2 separate regions of the Homo sapiens genome follow, and region 1 is linked to region 2. The links are contacts of gene promoters, found by promoter capture Hi-C in human tissues and cell types (Jung and others, 2019). All regions are on one chromosome and are shown on one strand. Each heading gives the region's core, a stretch centred on a gene start or on the middle of the fragment in contact. The rest is flanking DNA. Distances are from core to core; before and after follow the strand shown. Region 1 has its middle 150 kb from the start of ZNF519. Region 2 holds the start of MC2R (melanocortin 2 receptor).

The links. Contacts are between HindIII fragments. The study calls those that stand out against the background at their distance.
Region 1: a fragment that was not itself captured here is called in contact with the fragment with the promoter of MC2R in region 2 in 2 of the 25 tissues and cell types used here (lymphoblastoid cells and spleen).

Annotation. Positions count from the first base shown.
Region 1 is chr18:14,281,709-14,287,172 of GRCh38, forward strand. No RefSeq gene overlaps it. Among named protein-coding and RNA genes, the nearest start is that of ZNF519, 150 kb to the left of the region's middle. The HindIII fragment of the contact is 3,687 bases long and covers 748-4,434 here.
Region 2 is chr18:13,912,195-13,917,992 of GRCh38, forward strand. It overlaps MC2R (melanocortin 2 receptor), which reads right to left and starts at 3,342. Exons shown (of 2, transcript NM_000529.2): 1 at 3,294-3,342. The HindIII fragment of the contact is 21,573 bases long and covers 1-5,798 here.

The sequences.
Region 1 (5,464 bases), core at 1,341-3,840, 370 kb after region 2:
CTCACATGTAATTGTAATCCCGAATGTTGCAGGTGGGGCGTGGTGGGAGGTGATTTATTCATGGATGGGAGACGGGTGGGGTTGGAATTAAAAACTGGTGGGTAAGGTGGGGAGGGTAAGCTGGCTGTAGGGTGGCGTGTAGCAGAAGGGGAGTAGCATGCCGCAGAGGCAGAGGCTCATGGAAAAACTCTACTGAGGCAGTGCACCTGTGGCTTTGCAGGGTTTAGCACCTGTAGCTGCTCTCATGAGCTGGGCTGATGTTGAGTGCCTGTAGCTTTTCCATATTGGGGGTGTGAGCTGTTGGTGGGTCTATGACTCTTGGGTCTGGAGGATGGTGGCATGGGGGCTCCAAGCCCACATTTTCCTGCTGCACTGTCCTAGTAGAGGTTTTCCAAGAGGATCTGCCTCTGCCTCAGGCTTCTGCTTGGAAACAGTGGGTGGTGGATATGGGATAGTGGGCGGATCCTTCACCAACAGTGAAGCACCATCTTCTTGATGCTGATCTCCTGATACTGAGCTCTCATGAGATCTAGTTGTATAACAGGATGTCGCACCTCTTTCCTCTCTCTGTCTTGCTTCTACTCCTGCCATATGAAACATTTCACTGCTGCTTGGCCTTCTGGTATAATTGGGAGGCTTCCTGAGTCCTCCTATAAGCAAAAACCACTATGCTTTCTTTACAGCCTGAAGAACTGTGAGTCAATTACACCTCTTTTCTTTATGTAGATACAGAAAATTAATGCTGTGAAGTAAAGCTATGAAATGAATTCTAGGCCTTTCCCCCAATCTCTTGGCTATTAGCACTGAGCTTTTTTCAATGCAGATATTGGAGGCCATCTTGATGTTTCCCCCTGATAATGGACTTTTCTTCTTTTACCACATTGCCAGGCTGCAACAAAGATAGCTGACAGTGTAGAAGCAGATTCCAAATTGGGTAATGGCCAGAGGTTCGAGAGTTTGGAGAGCTTGGAAGAAGACAGGAAGATGAGGGAAAGTTTGGACCGTTGCAGAGACTTGTTAAATAGTTGTGATTAAAAGGCTGACAGAAGGATGGACAGTGAAGGCCAGGTTTGTAAGGTCTCAGATGAAAATGAGGAACTTACTGGGAAGAGGAGCCAAGGTTTTTTTGTTTTGCCTTAGCAAAGTAATTGGCTACACAGTGACCCTTCCCAGGAGATCTGTGAAACTGAACTTGAGGATGATGATTTAGGGTGTATCTGGTGGAATGAACTTCTAAGCAGCAAACCTCAAGAGCTGTGCTGCCTACATCGAACAGCCTGTGCTCCTATGTGTGATCAAAGAAATGACCATAAGTTGGAACTTATATTTAAATGAGAAGCAGAGATTCAACATTTGGGAAATTTGTAATCTGGTCAAAAAGAAAAGCTGATTTTCAGGGGAAAATCAAGAAGGCCTCGGATATTTGCATAAAAAGGATCCCAGTGCTAATGATTCAAAACAATGGGAAAAAGGCCTTGAAGGCATTTCAGAGACCTTTGTAGAAGACCTTGTTGTCAAGGGCCCTAGGGCTTAGGAGAAAAGAATAGTTTCCTGGCCCAGCCCCATGGCTCCACTGCTGTGTACAGCCTCAGGACACTGCTGCCTGCATCCCTGCAGCTCCATCTCCAGCTCCAGCTATGGATGAAAGATGCACAGGTACAGCTTGTGTCACTGCTTCAGAGGATGCAAGCTCCAAGCCTTGGTGGCTTCCACATAGTGTCAAGCCAGCAGGTGCATAAAGCAGGGACTAGAAGCTTCAGAGCCTTCATCTAGACTGCAGAGGATATATTGGAAAGCCTGAGTGTCCAGCCAGAAGCTTTTCCAAGAGGCAGAGCCTCATGGTAAAACTCTACTGGGGCAGTACAGAAGAATATAGGGTTGGAGTCCCCATACAGGGAGGCACCATTTTCCAGACCCCAGTTTCATAGACCCACCAACTGCTTGCACCCTCAGTGTTGAAAAGCTACAGGCATTCAACACCAGGCTAGCCAATGAGGGCAGCTGTGGGGGAAAGATTCTGCAATGCCACAGGGGCAGAGCTGCCCAAGGCCTTGGGATCCCAGCTGTCACACCACCCTGTGCTCTGGATGTGGACATAGATTCCAAAAAGATGATTTGGAGCTATATGATGGAATGACTGGCCTGCTGGGTGTTTGACTTGCAGGGAGTTTCTAAGTCCCATCTGTGTTTTGTGCTTCTTTCTGGCAAATTTCTTCTTTTTGGCTGGGAATGCTTACCCAATACCTGTACAACCATTGTACCTTGGAAGTGGTTAACTTGCTTTGTATTTCAGAGGCTCGGGGCAAAAGATATGGCAGCCTTGTCTCAGAAGAGACTTTGGGCTTTGGATATTTGAGTAAATGCTGGGATGAGTTAAGACTTGGGGGACTGTAGGGAAGGCATCATTGCATTTTGCAATGTGAGAAAGACATGAACTTTGGGGGACCAGGGACAGAATAATATGTTTTGGCTCTGTGTCTCTACCAAAACTCATGTGGAATTTTAATGGGAAATGCTAAAGGTGGGGGCTGGTGGAAGGTGATTTAATCATGGTGGAGAGTGGAGGTTGGATGGTTGGGAGGGTGGGGAGTGTTGGGGGGATTGTGGGGTGGGGTGGGTTAGGGGGATTGTGGTGGTGGGGAGGTGGGGGATTGGGGGGTGGGAAGGCTTGGGGCAATTGTGGTGGGGTTGGGGGTGAAAGGCAGGGGTGGGGGCCGATCCTTCACAAATGGACATTTGAGTAAATGCTGGAATGAGTTCAGACATTGGGGGACTGTAGAGAATGCATCATTGTATTTTGCAGTATGAGAAGGATATGAGATTGGGGGGCCAAAGGGAGAATAATATGATTTGGCTCTGTGTCCCTACCAAAACACATGTGGGATTGTAATGGGGAATGTTAAATGTGGGGCTTGGTAGAAGGTGATTTAATCATGGTAGAGAATGAGGATTGGAAGGCAGATGTGGGAGAATGGAGGTTCATGGTGTGGGTGAGGGTGAAACATGGGGATGGGTGGTAGATCCTTCACAAATGGTTAAATACTATCTCCTTAATGCAGTCTGTGTGATAGTGAGTTCTCATGATAAATGAATGCTGTCCTGCTGGGTTTTGGACTCGGATTGGGCCTGTGTCCCATTTGTGTTATTTTTCTGGGAAAATCTTCCCTTTGGTTTGAGAAAGCTTACCCAGTGCCTGTGCCATCATTGTAACTTGAAAGAAAAGAATTGTCTTTTACATTCAGGAACTCATAGGCAGAAGAGATTGCAGCCTTCTCTTGGTTGAGACTTGAATTTACTACATTTGAGTTACTGCTGGAGTGAGTTAAGACATTTTGAAACTTTTGAAAATGCATGTTTGTATTTTTTTGTGTGAGAAGGACATGAGATGTGGGGGTGTCAGGGTCAGAGTAATATGGTTTGGCTGTGTTTCCCTACAAATCTCATGGGGAATTGTAATCCTGACTGTTGTAGGTGGGGCCTAGTGGGAGGCGATTTAACCACAAAGGGCAGAGTGGTAGGGGTGAAGAGAAAACAAGTGGGTAGGGTGGGGAGGAATAGGCTGGCAGTAGCGTGGTGAGAGGGTGGTGGACCGTAGGAAGGGGGAGTAGCCTGCTGCCGAGGCAGAGCTCATGGAAAACCTCTAAACAAGGGCAGTGCACCTGTGGCTTTGAAGGCTTTAGCCCCCATGTTTGCTCTCATGGGTTGGGCTGGTGTTGAGTGCCTGTAGCTTTTCCATACTGAGAGTACAAGCTGCTGGTGGGTCTATGAATCTGGGGTCTGGAGGTTGGTGACCTCCTGTGTGGGGCCTCCAGGCCCATATATTTTTTCTGCACTGCCGTAGCAGAGGTTTTCCTAGTGGCTCTGCCTCTGCCTGAGGCTTCTGCCTGGAAACAGTGGGGGGTGGGGATGGTAGGGGGCAGATCTTTCACCAATGGTTAAGCAACATCTTCTTGATGCTGACCTTGTGATAGTGAGTTCTCAGGAAATCTGGTTGTATAACAGGTTTATACAACATGTGGCACCTTTTTCCTCTCTCTGTCTTGTTTCTACTTCTGCCATATAAAACATCCCATTACTGCTTGGTCTTCTGGTATGATTGGGAGGCTTCCTGAGTCCTCCCAGAGGCAGAAGCCTCTAGGAATTATTTAAAGCTTACAGAACCATGATCTAGTCCAACCTTTTTTCTTTCTGATTATACAGAAATTTAGTGCTGTGAAGTGGAGCTATGAAATGCCTTCAAGGCCTTTTCCTTATTGTCTTGGTAATCAGCACTCAGCTTCTTTTCACAGAAATGTCTGAAGTCTGCATTAGTTTTTCTCCTGAAATGGACTTTTCTTCTTTTACCACATTGCCAGGCTGTGACAAATGTAGCTGAAAATGTAGAAGCAGGTTGAGAAGTGTGTAATGGCCAGAGGTTGGAGGGTTTGGAGGTCTTGGAAGAAGACAGGAAGATGAGGAAAAGTTTGGATCAGTGTAGAGACTTGTCAAATAGTTGTAATTAAAAAGGTGACAGAAGGATGGACAGTGATCACCAGGCTTAGAAGGTCTCACATGAAAATGAGGAGCTTGCTGGGAACTGGAGCCAAGGTCACTTTTGTTTTTTCCTTAGCAAAGAACGTTGCTGCACGATGCCCTTAACGTGGAGACGTGTGAAATTTTGAACATCAGGGTGATAATTTAGAGTGTATCTGGTGGAAGGAAATTTTAGGCAGCAAAGCTTAAGAGGTGTCCTGTCTGTGTCGAACAGCCTGTGGTCGTATATGTGACCAGAGAAATGACCTCATGGTGAAACATATTTAAAAGTTTGGAAAATTTGCAGCCTGGACAAGTGGTCAAAAAAAAAGAAAAGCTGATTGTCAGTGAGAAAGTTCAAGAAGTCTTCAGAAATTTGCATAAAATGGAGTTCAGTGCTAATAGCCAATACAGTGTTAAAAAGGCCCTGAAGGCATTTCAGAGACTTTTGTAGCAGCCCTTGCTATCACAGGCCCTGAGGCCTGGGAGAAAAGAATGGTTTCCTTCTCCAGCACCATGGCCCAGCTGCTGTGTCCATCCTCAGGACACTGCTGGCTGAATTCCTGAAGCTCCAGCTCCAGCCATGGCTGAAAGATGCACAGGTACAGCTTGGGTCACAGCTTCAGAGGGAGCAAGTTGCAGGCTTTGGTGCTTCCACGTAGTGTTAAGCCAGTAGGTGTGCAGAGCACAAAACTGGAGGCTGGGGATCCTTTGTCTAGACTCCAGAGTACATATGGAAAAACCTGGGTGTCCAGGTCAAAATTTTCCAAGACGCAGAGCCTCCTTTACTAGGGCAGTACAGAAGGAACATATAGGGTTGGAACTCCCATACAGGGAGGCACCATTCTGCAAATGCCAGATTCAGACTCTCTAACAGCTTGCACCCTCATTGTGGAAAAGCTGCAGGTACTCAACACCAGCCCAGCCCATGAGAGCCACTGTGGAGGTTAGA
Region 2 (5,798 bases), core at 2,092-4,591:
GCAATGTTAAAGGTTGGAGACAGGGCAGAGTGAAAGGTATTCTCTCTTAATGCTCCAGTTACACATAAAGGGTAGGTGTTCCTATTTCCTGCTCCCCTGCCTATATTATAGATAAGAAAACGGAGGCTCAGGGAGGTTGGGTTACTTGCTTAAGGTCACCCAGCTGCGAATCTGCCTCATTCCAAGGTCTGTGCTCGCTTGGTTATTCCAAAGAGCCTGAGAGGCTGAGTGTTTGGAAGCAGGACAAGCCTAGCTCTGAAACAGGTATGGGTAGGAGGACCGGGTCAGGTTGGGCCAAGAGCTGTGGGAGGAGCTGGGAACTGAGGGGCTCAGGACTCTGAGGCTGTTTTGGTGCTAAATAAAACAAAATAACAACATAGCACCATAATAAAACTTGTAGATTATTATTAATCAATTAATCAATACTCTGTTGAAATAGGAAAAATTCAAGGACAGATGAATTTCTACGTTGTTTTCTGCTCCCGGACCATCCCAACTGCTTTGCTAGGGCCCAGTCACTGTCTCCAGCTGAAGTCAGTTTTCCTTGAACTTACTGATGTTGATCTTACAGAGTTATAAGTTACGCTTATCACTGTGAAGACTGGCTGCAGCCAGCAGAGCTCGCTATGGTAGGCAATGGCTCATCTGAATCCAGCGCACATCTTGTTTTGAATTCCGCATAGGCTCAATTATGAGAGGCCTTCAAGGGAGCCTTATTTTGGGGGTGGCTTTATTCTTTTTCCCCATGCCGGGCACAGGCAGAAGCATCTCTCGGTGTGATCATCTTGCAGGCCGCTGGGCAGGTTTACAGCTTTTCCGACACTTCACAGAGAACTGCTGCTTACAGTATAATTTCTTTTTTAATATACACAAGACTGGAAATTAGGCATGAATGACAATGTGATCACATCTTAGGACGAGCGAAGGAAAGTCCCGAGAATGGAAGCTTTTGCAGGAGCTCACAGCTAGGGAGGCATGAAGCCCAGGCTGGAGTGTTCTGGTTGGAAATCAGTGTGATGCTCAGCTCCCTGCACAGCCTCACCTGGACCACCACCTTCCACCCGCTCACATCTCCCGTCCTCTGAGCTTCACTGCTCATGGCAGGCTTCCTCCACGGTGCCTTCCTGCCAGTGTGACCCACTCGGACCTTTCCCTGCCACGGCTGTGCTGCTCACACAAACGCTTGCTGCCCCCAGGTTTTGATGCTGGGACACCTACTAGGTTGATTAGTCTCTGTAGTTTGCACATGTTGTTCTCCCACCAAGTCAGGCTCTGTGCGTTACCCATGCTGCTAGCACAGCGCTTGGCACACGCATATTTTGAGTTGAGAACTTACTTTAAAACCATCTTCCAAATTTTGTACCCTGGCGGCTCATAGTCAGAGAACAGAGAAGTTAAGACTTTAGGACTCCACCACACTTTAAGGCCCACTGGGTGGGTCTGCACCAGCGCTTGCCTGTCTGTTCACACGTTCTCTCTCCCTGGGCCTGGACACGTCCTTCCTCACTTCTCACACTCAGCACTGTGTCCTTGCCCAAGTACAGACTCTCTTCCACTGCCCCCGCATCCCAAGGGAGCCCAGGATTGCTGCCCGTCTATGCACCTGTAGCTGTTTGTTCTTATTTCTACAACGGCATTATTCACATGAAAACCCTGCAGATGGATCTGAGTTCCTTAGGATAAGACCTGCCCTGACCATGTCTGAGGCTGAGCCCTGCAGACAACCTGGCCCACAGCAATTATATTTGCCTAATGAAGGCAAGGAATGTGGCTTACACAGACAAGAAAGCTCTCATTAAAATGTATTAGACACTAAGGATTCCATAGGAAACATACCTGGGATCATTAACAAGGTAAAGAATAGGATTTTTTTTTTTTTTTAAGATGTCTTAAGTTGCTCTGAGGCAGTGAGAGGGCAATTTGCTGCTGAGCAAAAACCTCCTCTGCCAGAGATTCAGGATCCACTGAGAAGTCAGGATGGCTTTGGAGCTTATCTACCCCATTACCCTGGTTCATGCCCTCCTCCACCCCTGCCGCGGCCTAAGCGGTGTCCCAAAGGCAGGGTGAGGGCTCCCGTCTCCCTGCTCCCACAGCTCTTTGTGGGTGTGTGTCCTGTCTGGGAGCTAGTGTGAAGTGTTGTCTCAGTGTGCGCTGTCCTCAGCGCCGGGGCTCCAGGAGGCTCCACTCTGACTTAGGCTTGCAACAAGGCCCAGCACATAAGGGTTCGGTACAGCTTGATCTAGGCATGAATGTGTGAGCAGAGCCTGTGACCACCGCTTCACTCCCACTCCGGGGATGGGGTGGGGAGGGCATGTGAGGAGCACTCCTCCTTCTGATCTGCTCAAGGCTGTACTCTCTGGACCCCTTTGTACCCCTTTCCCATTCCTATCCCTTTTGGACTTTTTGCATGCATGTATGTATGTATGTTTACAAGTGTGCACGTGTATGTGTGTATATGTGTGTGTATGAGTGTGTGTGTGTAAGTGAAGAATGGGGACAGTTATCTGAAGGCAGCTTAGACAAACTGAAATATGAAGAAGAGCTGTTTAATCGAATGCCTGGGCCTCTTTTCTAGGTAACATGTGCCCCCCGACAGAGCCAGCCAAAGGAAGGTGTGAGCCCCTCATGATGGCAGTGACTGCATGCTTTCTGGGTGCAAACACTTTGCAGGAGTATGTGATAATCAGTATGCTTTTAGTTATTGTTTATCCTGCACCCCGTGTTGCTGCCTAGGAAGGTGGAGGCTGACTGAGCTAGTGGTTGAGAAAGGCACAGAAAGTGTGCGTGCATCTCCCAGAACTGTAACGTCACACGTGTGGATGGTGGAGTTGCTTAGACACCAATGCCTGAGGTTCAGGAAGCTGCCGCATGCCCACGTCTTTGTGGCGCTAAAACCCCCGCACTCTTACACCTAGACAAGCTGATCAGGTGAAGGGGCTAACTCCAGAAGTGATAATAGAAGCATGATTTGTTTCACCCCTAATTCTATTAGGAAAAAACTGGCTGTAGTCCTTGAATAGAGCTCAATGACAATTTGAAGAGTACTAGAGAAGCCAATAAATTCATTAATAGGGAAGATTGTTTTAGCTAGACAAAAAGGTAATAGCCTTCATTGTAGTAGTTTAATTAGAAAAATAATAAACTCCCTTAGGAAGGATGAAAGCCCATAATTAAAAAGATGAGCTATTTGGAGGAATTCTGAATAGTACCTCTTCTCAGATTTGTTCCTAGCTGCTCTATTCATGGTCCAAAAGCACTTAGCAAGCTGAGGAATTAGTGGAAAATGTACTTACCTTCAGCTCTGAAGCAGGAACTTTCTGGGCAAAATGAATGAGAAGGAATGAGCTCGGAGAGAAAAGCAAGCAAGTGGACCTTGGGCCGGGAAGGGCCGGAACACATGCATCACCGGAGATACAGCTAGATTGTTATCATTACCTTGAATAAATGTCATCCCACATGAACTGTGCATTTCTGGTAATGTGAAGTTAGAGAAATGGAAAGACACAGGCAGATGAAGACATAATTTCCATGAGCTCAGCTAGTCAAGGTTACTTCCAATGTTTATGACAATGTTTCTAGCAGATTATGGAATTGTCATCTTGCTCTTTTTAAATGCCACTTTAGAGTTGCATTTATTTCCAAAAAGAACTAAGGAATTAAATAAATCAGGTTTTTGAGAAAATGGTTTTGGAAGAATTTGTTTTAAAACTTCTAGCAAACTTCTTGATATATCTTGCAAATATTTGGCTCATTAGTTTCATTAAGAAGAAGGGAATAGCCCCATTATCCCTATTTCACAAGACTAAACAATGAGAGTGAGGGAACTGTGTGCTCAAGTGCACATATGACGCATGGGTCCAGACAAGAAAAAAACCCTGTGTTCTGCCAATGCTTCTCCGTCCAAAAACTTCACAGAAACCGCCATAGATAAGAGCCATCATTCAAAGCAAAATTCTTCCATTTTAGGGTGCAATGCTGTGTGTTTTCTGCCTGCCGGGGCCTGCAGGGAAGGGCTACTGTTGGTGTCAGTCACAGCAACAGGAATGTTGAAGTGTGGAATTGGGCCAAGTTTCCAGATGGTCCTGGGTTTTTGGGGCTGGGGCCAAACCAGTGGCTGTTTCTGAAATGTGAGCTTCCGCCCCAAGCTAAAAAGTGTTCACACGTGGGTGGTCTGGAAAAGACCAAAGAGAGAGACCTGAGTTGAATTTGCCAGGCGGGTAAACACAATTTTATAAAGTGGCTTTTCCTGGCCTGTCACTGAGGCAAAGCGTGTTGTCCCCAGGAACTCATGGACCCAGGATCATCCCAGACTTCGACTGTTTCTGAGTAGGTGTGTGCCTCCGCAACATGCCCTGCAGCTGAAACCCGGCGTTCCACAGGCCTCTTTCCCTCTTCAGTCATGTAGTTGAGATAACAGAGAAAAGCAAGGCATTGCCTCCAGAAAGCTACTGTATTATCTGGAAAAGTAGAGACAACTCGTCCTTAGCCCTTGTACTTGCAGAAGCAGAGGCCCTTTGTCAGAGATCTGTGGATCTGATTAGCTGATTGGGAAAACCGGTGGCCAGCCCTGGGGAGTGGGACATCAGGCAGGCTGCAGACAATGGGAACACTGTCTGGAGGAGGCGAGCCTCGGCCAGTCCCCTGGGTGGGACCTGGGCCACTCTGATTGGGAGGGACAGGGAGAGACTTCCAGCAGGGGGAAGGTTGCCTAGGGGTTTGGCTAAGCCCTGCAAAGAGAGTAGCTATTGCTATTTTAGTTCTTCCATTTTGGGGGCTCATCTCTCTCCAATTTTTAGAGAAAAGGGGGCAAAAATCTCTTGGAAGGAGCAGAGTAGAAATGACAGAGTTTAGAACCAGAAGACACGCGGTCAGAGTTCTGAGTGCCAGGCCTCTAGGACTCCATTGCCTGGTGTAAAGCGGGCTGTTGTGAGAATTCAGACTAGGTTTGTAACAGTGCTCAGGGAAATCTAAAACCATATGCCAATACCTATGGTTTTTGTTATAACCCTGTCCAAACACTCTTGAAATAGTGGTATTTTAAAAGAAATATCTTTGCTGTAGGGAAACCCATTCAGCTGGTGATCATTGGAAAGCAAACTTGTAAGTGGAGATGCTGGTAGATGAACTCTGATGACCATGTTACAACTGCGCCACCATTCCGTCACCAGCCCAGTCTCTCTCTCATCCCAAGAGATACGATGGAAAAGGGGAATTTTAGGGAGCATTCAAAGGGCTTCTGTATGCACCCTTTCTTCTCTTCTCACACAATCGTATACAACTCGGTCACTTTCACAAATACAACTTCCTCCCCAGTGCTTGTCCCTCTCATGGAAAAGCTAAAGAGGCAGAGAGAGAGAAAGAGTGAGAGGGTGGGGGAGGCTTGGGAGGCAGAGCAAGGGGAAAGGAGATGCAATGGGGAAACAGAAGGGGACAGGAAGAAGAGACAGGGCCGGGGATCTGTCTTTTGTGTTTGCAGGACTGCCCCATTCTGACATAGAAAATGCTGGGGTTGGAAGGTAACTCACAAATGTCTTTGCTGAAATCTGCAGTGGAAGCAATGGTAAGAATCCACAGTGGGTTTCCTATGTGCCAGCCATGATGAATGTTCTCAGTGCTGTACATATCTCGACATTTAATCTTCTCAGCACATGTGTGAAGTCACCTTACAGACCCCATTTATAGATGGGGATCTGAGAAGTTCAGTGGCTCTACAGAGGCCATGATAGCACTTAAGACTTTCCTGTAAGAACGATGAGGAGTCAGGACTAGGATGACATGACCTGATTCAGGCTTTAAAG